Regions from separate parts of the Homo sapiens genome. Here regions 2 and 3 are each linked to region 1. The links are contacts of gene promoters, found by promoter capture Hi-C in blood cells and fetal thymus (Javierre and others, 2016). All regions are on one chromosome and are shown on one strand. The core of a region is centred on a gene start or on the middle of the fragment in contact, and the rest is flanking DNA. Distances in the headings are between cores, read along the strand shown. Region 1 has its middle 5.3 kb from the start of CTU1. Region 2 holds the start of ASPDH (aspartate dehydrogenase domain containing). Region 3 holds the start of NAPSA (napsin A aspartic peptidase).

Region 1 (2,700 bases), core at 138-2,637:
ACTCAGAGGAGGGGCCGCCAGTTTTTAGAACTAATACTTACAATAGTAAGGTCAGGTGTTGTGGCTCATGCCTGTAATCCTAGCACTTTGAGAGGGCAAGCCAGGCGGATCACCTGAGGTCAGGAGTTCGAGACTAGCCTGGCCAACATGGTAAAACCCCGTCTCTATTAAAAATACAAAAATCAGCTGGGTGTGGTGGCGGGCGCCTGTAATCCCAGCTACTCAGGAGGCTGAGGCAGGAGAATCGCTTGAACCCAGGAGGCAGAGGTTGCAGTGAGCTGAGATGGTACCATTGCACTCCAGCCTGGGCAACAAGAGTGAAACTCCATCTCAAAAAAAAGAAAAGTTTGACTTCTGTTAGACAGGAGAAAGTGCAATAGATTTATAGTGCCTGACCAAGAAAAGGAAGCTTTATTTAGCTATCATGTCCCTTTCTTCCAGTCATCTCATTTTGCAACTTCTTCAAACAAAGCATGAAGAGAGAAAGCAAAGAATAGTGAAATGTGAGTACTGGGGTTTCTCTGTTCACCACATCCTCCTGGTTTTCTGACTGGAAACCAGTCAAAATGGTCCAGACTTACTGACTAAGACGTCGATCACAAGTGATGGAATCTTTGTGTATGCTGGTAAAAGAGAATTTGATGAGAGGATTTTGCAGTTTCCCACATCATCTAAGAAGAGTAGGGCAGCCTGTTGGGAAGGACAGATCTCCATGAGCCTCCCGTCCTCCTACACATCTCGTTGGGTATTGCCCAAAACATGATGGTCTGAGATCTCGTTACCTGGCCTAGTTCTCAGGTTGTGTTTGCAGGGAGCCACCCTGAGGGATGGGGTAATGTCTCCCTCCAGGACAAAGAGTAGCCTCACTTGCTGCTGGCTGTAAAGGAGCTAGATTCTCCAACTTGCCAGTTTTGTTTCTCGGGGTCCTATCAAACTGAGACAGAGGTTTCTCTGAGCCTTATCCTATATCAACAATATTTACCAAGTCACTCTAGGAGTCAGAACAAACCCAATTTCTGTCCCTATGGGCTCACCATCTAGCACAGTGGAGAGCATTGAAAATGCCTTCACAGACAACGGGGCCATTAGGAGGGTGCTGGGGTCAGAACAAAGACCTGGGCTACAGGCAGAGATTTCACAAGTAACAGCTTTATTTTTTAATTTTTGAATACATATATTGAGAGTTTATTATATGTCAGGTATGATTCTTGTTGAACAAAATAGACAAAAATGTCTTCACCTATTACTACATGTTAGATGGAGACTTGCCCTGGGAATGAGGAGTGAGGAGCATTTTCCAGGGCCCCAGAGCTGAGCACAAACAGATAAAGGGGAAGGGCAAGACTGGCAGGCCTGTTTCTCCCCTCTTAAGGATTGGGCTACCAGGTGACAAATGTTCAGAGACGTCCAAATGTGGGGCAGGTAGTCAGCTAAATGACCCCAGAGGTAGGTATCAAGGCATGATGACTCTGGAAGAATAGTTGCAAGCCGTATCTTGCAGGCTTACATATCAAAAAAAGTCTTGACTTTATATTGAGGGCACTGGGGAGCCATGGAAGGATTAAGAGCAAGGGGGAGGGGCAGAGTCAGCTCTTGGTGGGAGAAGGTATCCCTCTGGGGTGATGTGAGGGAGACTTTAGGGAGAGGAGGAGAGTGGAGGCCAAGAAGTTGGAGAGGAAAACAGAGTGGAGGTCTGAGCAGAAGAGGAAGAGGATGAAATGACTAGGAGCAGAGGCCATGGGGATGTTGAAGGGGGAGTGAAGTGAGCCTATTCCAGGAAGGGAAGTTTGCAAGACATCTTGCAAACAGGATATGGTAGGTGATAGAGAAATATCTATCTGACTCCTAGAATCCTAATTTGGATAATGATGATGGTTCCATCACTGAGAAGGGGGGAAATGTGGTTGTCTGGGGCTCAGAGCAGATTGGGATGAACAGCATGGTGTGCAAGACATCGGGGGGAGCCACGAGAAGTGCAGAGAGAAGAGAGGGTGCGAGGAGGAGCTGTGGAAACTCACATAAAAGGCTCCTGGGATGAGGAGAACGAGAGACAAGGCCAAAGAGAAACAGAGGGCCCTTCAGAGAGTGTTGCCAACAGAGAGTCTTTCCTGGTGCCTCCTCTGGCCAACAAAGTTTATTAGCACTGCTGTGGGAACCCAGGCAGACCTACCATTTAGTAAGGAGATGCAAAAACTAACAAGAAGGCAGTGGGACAGAGCTGGACTTAGGGCAAAATAAGGACTGTTTGATACACTACAATGAAAACAGACAAACCAACCAACCACAGACAAAAATCCCGTTCCTCAGTAGGCTCCACGGGTGAACGAACTCTCTTCATGCAGAAATTCTACCCAGGGAAGCTTCTAGCCCTTCGAGGGGTGGGGAAGCAAGTGCTGCCAGTAACAAGCACCAGATATAGGAAATGGCCCTCAGAGATGCACATTGATGCTGCAGGAACCAAAGCTCCCAGAGCTGGAGAGAGACAGCTGAGCCCAGCCACCATATCTTCCACCAGACGCGGATTGCTTAGGATGGCAGCTAGATGACCTGGAGATGGCAAGGCATTCTGAGGCTGGAAGGGTGTGCAGGGACCAGATCATGCAGCACCTCCGTTGCAGTCTGCAGAGGTTTGACAATGGAAAGCCTGATGGCAATGGGGAGCCATGGAAGAGTTTCGAGAAGGGGAGAGACAAGGTTAAA
Region 2 (2,804 bases), core at 144-2,643, 600 kb after region 1:
CAGGCCCTGGAGGGCTGGGGCTGGCCAGGGCTGCCATCTCACGCTGCTGGGGGAGGCAGAGGGAGGGACGGAGCCATGCAGGGCCTTCCAGTGCTTTCCCACGCTGAGGTGGCTTCGGGGACACAGCCCTGAGGACACACAGGCCTGCGCCCAGCCCCCTTCTCCCCTCGTAGTGGCCCAGGCTGTACCCCGTACACGGCAGCTATGGGCACTATGGGGACACTCAGGCCCCAGCAGGAGTCAGAAGGTAGAGATGGCGGGAGGCCCCCCACTTCCGTGAGGTGCCTGGCCCCTGCCCCCTTCCTGGCTCTGTCTACACCCAGGCATCTCATCTCTCCCACACCGGGGGCTCCTGGCTCTGGAAGCCAATTCCTCCCTTATCAGCAGCGGCAGCCTTTGGGTGCCACGTCGGGGTCTTGGCCCCTCTCTGTCTGCCCGCGTCTGTCTCCTCTCTCCTCCCGTCAACTTGGGGCTCTCGCCACCCAGTGCCCGCCCCCCCCACCCCATGCTCCCGTTCACGCTCTCTTTCTCTCCAGCCTCCTTCCAGCGCCAATCCTGGTTGCCATGGAAACACTGCAGCGGGTACCAGGTGGTGGCTGGGGGCAGGGAGCCTGCGCTGCCGCAGCCTGCGCCATTTCCGATGCCAGGCACCCTCAAGGCACAGAGGCTGGGGCTCATGTTGGGGGCACTTGGCCTCTCCAGGCCTCGAAGGCTTCTCCTGGGCTGACGCGAGCTGGGGAACGGGAGGGACGGACGTGGGAGCGAGAACGTCACACTGGAGGCAGCTGGTGGCACGATGGGGGACAGAGTGAAAGGTAGCAAGTCAAGGTGAACTGAAGGATGATCAGAGCGGAGGGAGGCTGTGGACAGGGGCGGAGGCTGTGGGAAGGGGACCCGTGCTGCGCAGCGGGGCTAGGGAGGTTGGACCCGCTGAGGCAAGGGCACATTGAGGAGAAGCCACAACCAGGGCTCCCGCTGCCTCTGGGAGGGCTAGGGCCACGGCCAGGCTGAAGCCTCCCTCAGACCTTAGCCGCCTGAGGACAAGGAGGAGAGGTGAGCACGAGGGGACAGACAGAGCCCAGAGTCCCTGTCACCATCTCTTCTCCCAACCCAAAGCAAGATGCAGTTTCCATGACAACCTGGCCGGCCAGAGAGGGGGCAGGGGACTGCAGAGGAAACTTTCCACATCAGCAGGGAGAAAGAGGGTGTGCTGCAGGGGAAAGGGGGGCACGCAGGGTTCCCAGAACCCCCGGTCACCATGCTCACTGTGCTGGACCCGGGAAAGTGGACAGAGCACAGGGAAGGGTTCTCCCGCCTCCACTCCCGCAGGCCCACGCCCCCACGCTGGGCCTGCGGGGAAGGGGGAAGACTGAGCCCAGAGGCTCAAGGGTCAGATGTCCAAAGAGCAGCGGCTGCCCAGGCCTTGTGCAGCGGGCAGCGAGCAGCCCAGGGAGCCAGGCCCCAGACACCGCACTCAGGGCCATGGCCGACAGGGGCCCGTGGAGGGTGGGCGTGGTGGGCTATGGCCGCCTCGGTGAGTCCCTGACCATCCTTGGCCTCCTTCCCCAAACCCCTTCCTAAAGCTCCCAAGACTCTCTGCCCTCCACAAACACTTTTTTCTCTCTCTATCTGCCCCTGGCTGTGTCTCTGGGTCTGCCCACTGCACCCCCACCCCAGGTCTCTGTCCTCTCCGTCTCTGTCTCCCTTCTCTCTGGGCCTCTGTCCACCCCACTGTGTCTCTGCCCTGCCCCCATCTCTGTCTCCCTACCCCGCAATCTGAGTCTGTCCCCACCTCCTCTCTCTCTGGGTCTCTGTCCCCACCTCCTCTCTCTCTGGGTCTCTGTCCCCCTCTCTCTGGATCTCTAGCCCTCTCCTTTCCCTCTCCCCAGGACAGTCCCTCGTCTCCCGCCTCTTGGCTCAGGGACCAGAACTTGGCCTAGAACTTGTTTTTGTCTGGAATCGTGACCCAGGACGAATGGCAGGGAGCGTGCCCCCTTCCCTGCAGCTCCAGAACCTTGCTGCCCTTGGGGAAAGGTCAGTGACCTTGCCATGGGAGAGTGGAGCTCCCTGAAGCTCCTGTCCTGGCTCTCTTAGCCACTGTGTGATCTCAGGGGTTCCCTGACCCTCTCTGGGCCTTGGTTCAAGCAAATGTGAAACAGGACGAACCCATTCATCTCATTTCGCCTCCCAGGTCAGGGAGAAGAAGGGCAGCCCTCAGTAGACTCGGAGGGAACCTTGGGGAGAAGAGGCCTAATACCTCTCCAAGACCCTCCGCCCTCTTTCCCCTCTCCCAGGCGCCCTGATCTGGTTGTGGAAGTGGCCCATCCCAAAATAATCCATGAATCTGGGGCACAAATCCTGCGCCATGCCAATCTCCTGGTAAGCCCCACCCCAACCATTTACGCAGAGCCCTGCCCCTTCTGTCTTGGTCTCACCCCACCCTGAAGTGGATATCCTTCCCTGACCTCAACCCTCCCCTCCTTCATCCACCCCAGGTGGGGTCCCCCTCAGCTCTAAGTGACCAGACCACAGAGCGGCAGCTCTTGGAGGCCTCACAGCACTGGGACCACGCCGTGTTTGTGGCCCGAGGGGCCCTGTGGGGCGCTGAGGACATCAGGAGATTGGATGCAGCTGGGGGCCTCCGGGTGAGGCCTGCTGGGCTCCCCAGGAACCAGGGGAGGCCTGCAAAGACCCCACTCCCCCTAACCCGGGCTCTTGCTTCCAGAGCCTTCGTGTCACCATGGCCACACACCCCGATGGCTTCCGGCTTGAGGGACCCCTGGCTGCAGCCCACAGCCCTGGGC
Region 3 (2,700 bases), core at 184-2,683, 750 kb after region 1:
AGGTGGATCACCTGAGGTCAGGAGTTCGAGACCAGCCTGACCAATATGATGAAACCCTGTCTTTACTAAAAATACAAAAACTAGCTGGCATGCGCCTATAATCCCAGCTACTTGGGAGGCTGAGACAGGACAATCGCTTGAACTCAGGAGGCAGAGGTTGCAGTGAGCCAAGATGGCGCCATTACACTCCAGCCTAGGCAATAAGAGTGAAACTCCATCTCAAAAAAAAAAAAAAAATTTAGCCAGGGTGGTATCGGGTGCCTGTAGTCCCAGCTACTCGGGAGGCTGAGGCAGAATTACTTGCACCTGGGAGGCAGAGGTTGCAGTGAGCTGAGATCACACCATTGCACTGCAGCTTGGGCAACAAGAGCAAAACTCCATCTAAATAAATAAATAAATAAATAAATAAATAAATAAATAAATAACTCATCAATGCCCAGCCACCAATGAACATCTATAAGCATCAAGGCCATCCAGAATAAATGACCTTACCAAACAAATCAAATAAGCCACCAAGGACCAATCCTTGAAGAAACAGAGATATGTGACCTTTCCGACAGAGAATTTAAAATAGCTGTTTTGAGGAAACTCAAAGAAATTCAAGCTAACACACAGAAGGAATTCAGATTCCATCACATAAATTTAACAAAGAGATTGAAATAATTGAGAATCAGCTGGGTGCAGTGGCTCACGCCTGTAATCCCAGCACTTTAGGAGGCTGAGGCGGGCGGATCACCTGAGGTCGGGAGTTCTAGACCAGCCTGACCAACATGGAGAAACCCTGTCTCTACTAAAACTACAAAATTAGTGGGGCGTGGTTGCGCATGCCTGTAATCCCAGCCTGGGCAACAAGAGTGAAACTCGGTCTCAAAAAAAAAAAAACCAAAAAACAAAAACAAAAACAAACAAACAAAAAACAATACCCAATGATCTGTTGTCAACAAGAAACATACTTCACCTACAAATAAAACAGTAAGAGACTGGGTCCTGAAATGCGGGCCCACTTCATATGTGAGGGCAGGTGTCTAATCATGTCCTTTCTCCCTTCCCCCAGGCCCTTCACAGATACCTGCTGGTCTCTCCCACTTGGCCAAGGAAACACTTGTGGTTAATAAGTCTCAGAAAAGTTATGTGAAAGTTAAAAGTAAAACTGACAGCAGCTGAAGGATGGGGGGGTGGGAGGTGGTGACGGTGGAGGAGACCCCACCACCACTGCCACCCAAGTAGGGAGTGAGGAGCACCAGGAGCACAGGATGCTACTTCTGCCAACCCTACAAAAATACTCTGCACAAATCTTCAAAAAACATCCTTGTCCCACTGCGTCACCTGCGGACAGATTTCATGTCCTGGTCTCCTTCTAAACCTGGAGGTGGGGCATGAACAGGGTGGAGTCACAGGGGAAAGAAAATGAGGCCCCAGGACACCTGGGTTCACACCCAGGTCCCCAGCGATGTCTCCACCACCGCTGCTGCAACCCCTGCTGCTGCTGCTGCCTCTGCTGAATGTGGAGCCTTCCGGGGCCACACTGATCCGGTATGGTGACCCCATCTACCACCCCAACCTTAGGAGGGATTTTCTGCCTCTTGCCCTTTAAGTCTAGGACTCCCAGTTCAGTGATCCCCAAACTTGGCACCCAGGATCCCTAGAGCTTCTTTCTCAGCTTTCCAGATCTCTAAACCAGGCTGTCACCCCTAAGGGCTCCACTCTGACATCTCTTAAGACCAGATTTCTTTTTTTTGAGATGGAGTCTCACTCTGTTGCCCAGGCTGGAGTGCAATGGCATGATCTCAGCTCACTGAAACCTCTGCCTCCTGGGTTCAAGCGATTCTCCTGCCTCAGCTTCCCAAGTAGCTGGGATTACAGGCTCGCGCCACCATGCTCAGCTAATTTTTGTATTTTTAGTAGAGACGGGGTTTCACCATGTTGGCCAGGCTGGTCTGGAACCCCTGACCTCGTGATCCGCTCACCTCGGCCTCCCAAAGTGCTGGGATTACAGGCGTGAGCCACCGCGCCTGGCTGACCAGAGCCCTTTTATTATTATTATTATTATTATTATTATTTATTATTATTATTATTATTTGAGACAGAGTCTTGCTCTGTTACCCAGGCTGGAGTGCAGTGGGGCGATCTCAGCTCACTGCAACCTCTGCCTCCCGGGTTCAAGTGATTCTCCTGCCTCAGCCTCCCAAGTAGCTGGGACTACAGGCACATGCCACCACGCCCGGCTAATTTTTGTATTTTTAGTAGAGATGGGGTTTCGCCATGTTTGCCAGGCTGTCTTGAACTCCTGACCTCAAGTGATCTTTCCGCCTCAGCCTCCAAAAGTGCTGTGGTTACAGCTGTGAGCCCCCGCGTCCGGTCCCAGAGCCCTTTTAAGTCCCAGATCTTACAACACTGAGACTCTAGATTGAGGACCCCTCCCCCTCCTCTCAGGACTTTTTTTTTTTTTTTTTTTTTGAGACTGAGTCTCACTCTGTTGCCCAGGCTGGAGTGCAGTGGCGCAATCTTGGCTCACTGCAAGCTCTGTCCCCCGGGTTCACATCATTCTCCTGCCTCAGCCTCCCAAGCAGCTGGGACTACAGGCACCCGCCACCACGCCCGGCTAATTTTTTGTATTTTTAGTAGAGATGGGGTTTCACAGTGTTAGCCAGGATGGTCTCGATCTCCTGACCTCGTGATCCACCCACCTCAGCCTCGCAA

Evidence for each region. The method cuts DNA at HindIII sites, captures the fragments that hold promoters and counts their contacts. A CHiCAGO score of 5 or more calls a contact.
Region 2: a contact is called between the fragment with the promoter of ASPDH here and a fragment that was not itself captured in region 1, in 7 of 17 cell types (total CD4 T cells, naive CD8 T cells, total CD8 T cells and 4 more). The highest score is 9.6, in total CD4 T cells.
Region 3: the fragment with the promoter of NAPSA here is called in contact with a fragment that was not itself captured in region 1 in 2 of 17 cell types (total CD8 T cells and total CD4 T cells); the score reaches 7.6 in total CD8 T cells.

The regions. Positions count from the first base shown.
Region 1 is chr19:51,112,359-51,115,058 of GRCh38, reverse strand. No RefSeq gene overlaps it. Among named protein-coding and RNA genes, the nearest start is that of CTU1, 5.3 kb to the right of the region's middle. The HindIII fragment of the contact is 1,951 bases long and covers 412-2,362 here.
Region 2 is chr19:50,512,502-50,515,305 of GRCh38, reverse strand. It overlaps ASPDH (aspartate dehydrogenase domain containing), which reads left to right and starts at 1,393. Exons shown (of 7, transcript NM_001114598.2): 1 at 1,393-1,534; 2 at 1,890-2,034; 3 at 2,295-2,379; 4 at 2,496-2,645; 5 at 2,726-2,804. The coding sequence starts at 1,483. The region is part of intron 1 of LOC124904747 (a long non-coding RNA gene); the gene reads right to left. The HindIII fragment of the contact is 8,504 bases long and covers 1-2,804 here.
Region 3 is chr19:50,364,372-50,367,071 of GRCh38, reverse strand. NAPSA (napsin A aspartic peptidase) reads left to right here and starts at 1,433. Exons shown (of 9, transcript NM_004851.3): 1 at 1,433-1,533. The coding sequence starts at 1,451. The region is part of intron 3 of LOC105372437 (a long non-coding RNA gene); the gene reads right to left. RefSeq lists an enhancer at 1,083-1,232. The HindIII fragment of the contact is 17,836 bases long and covers 1-2,700 here.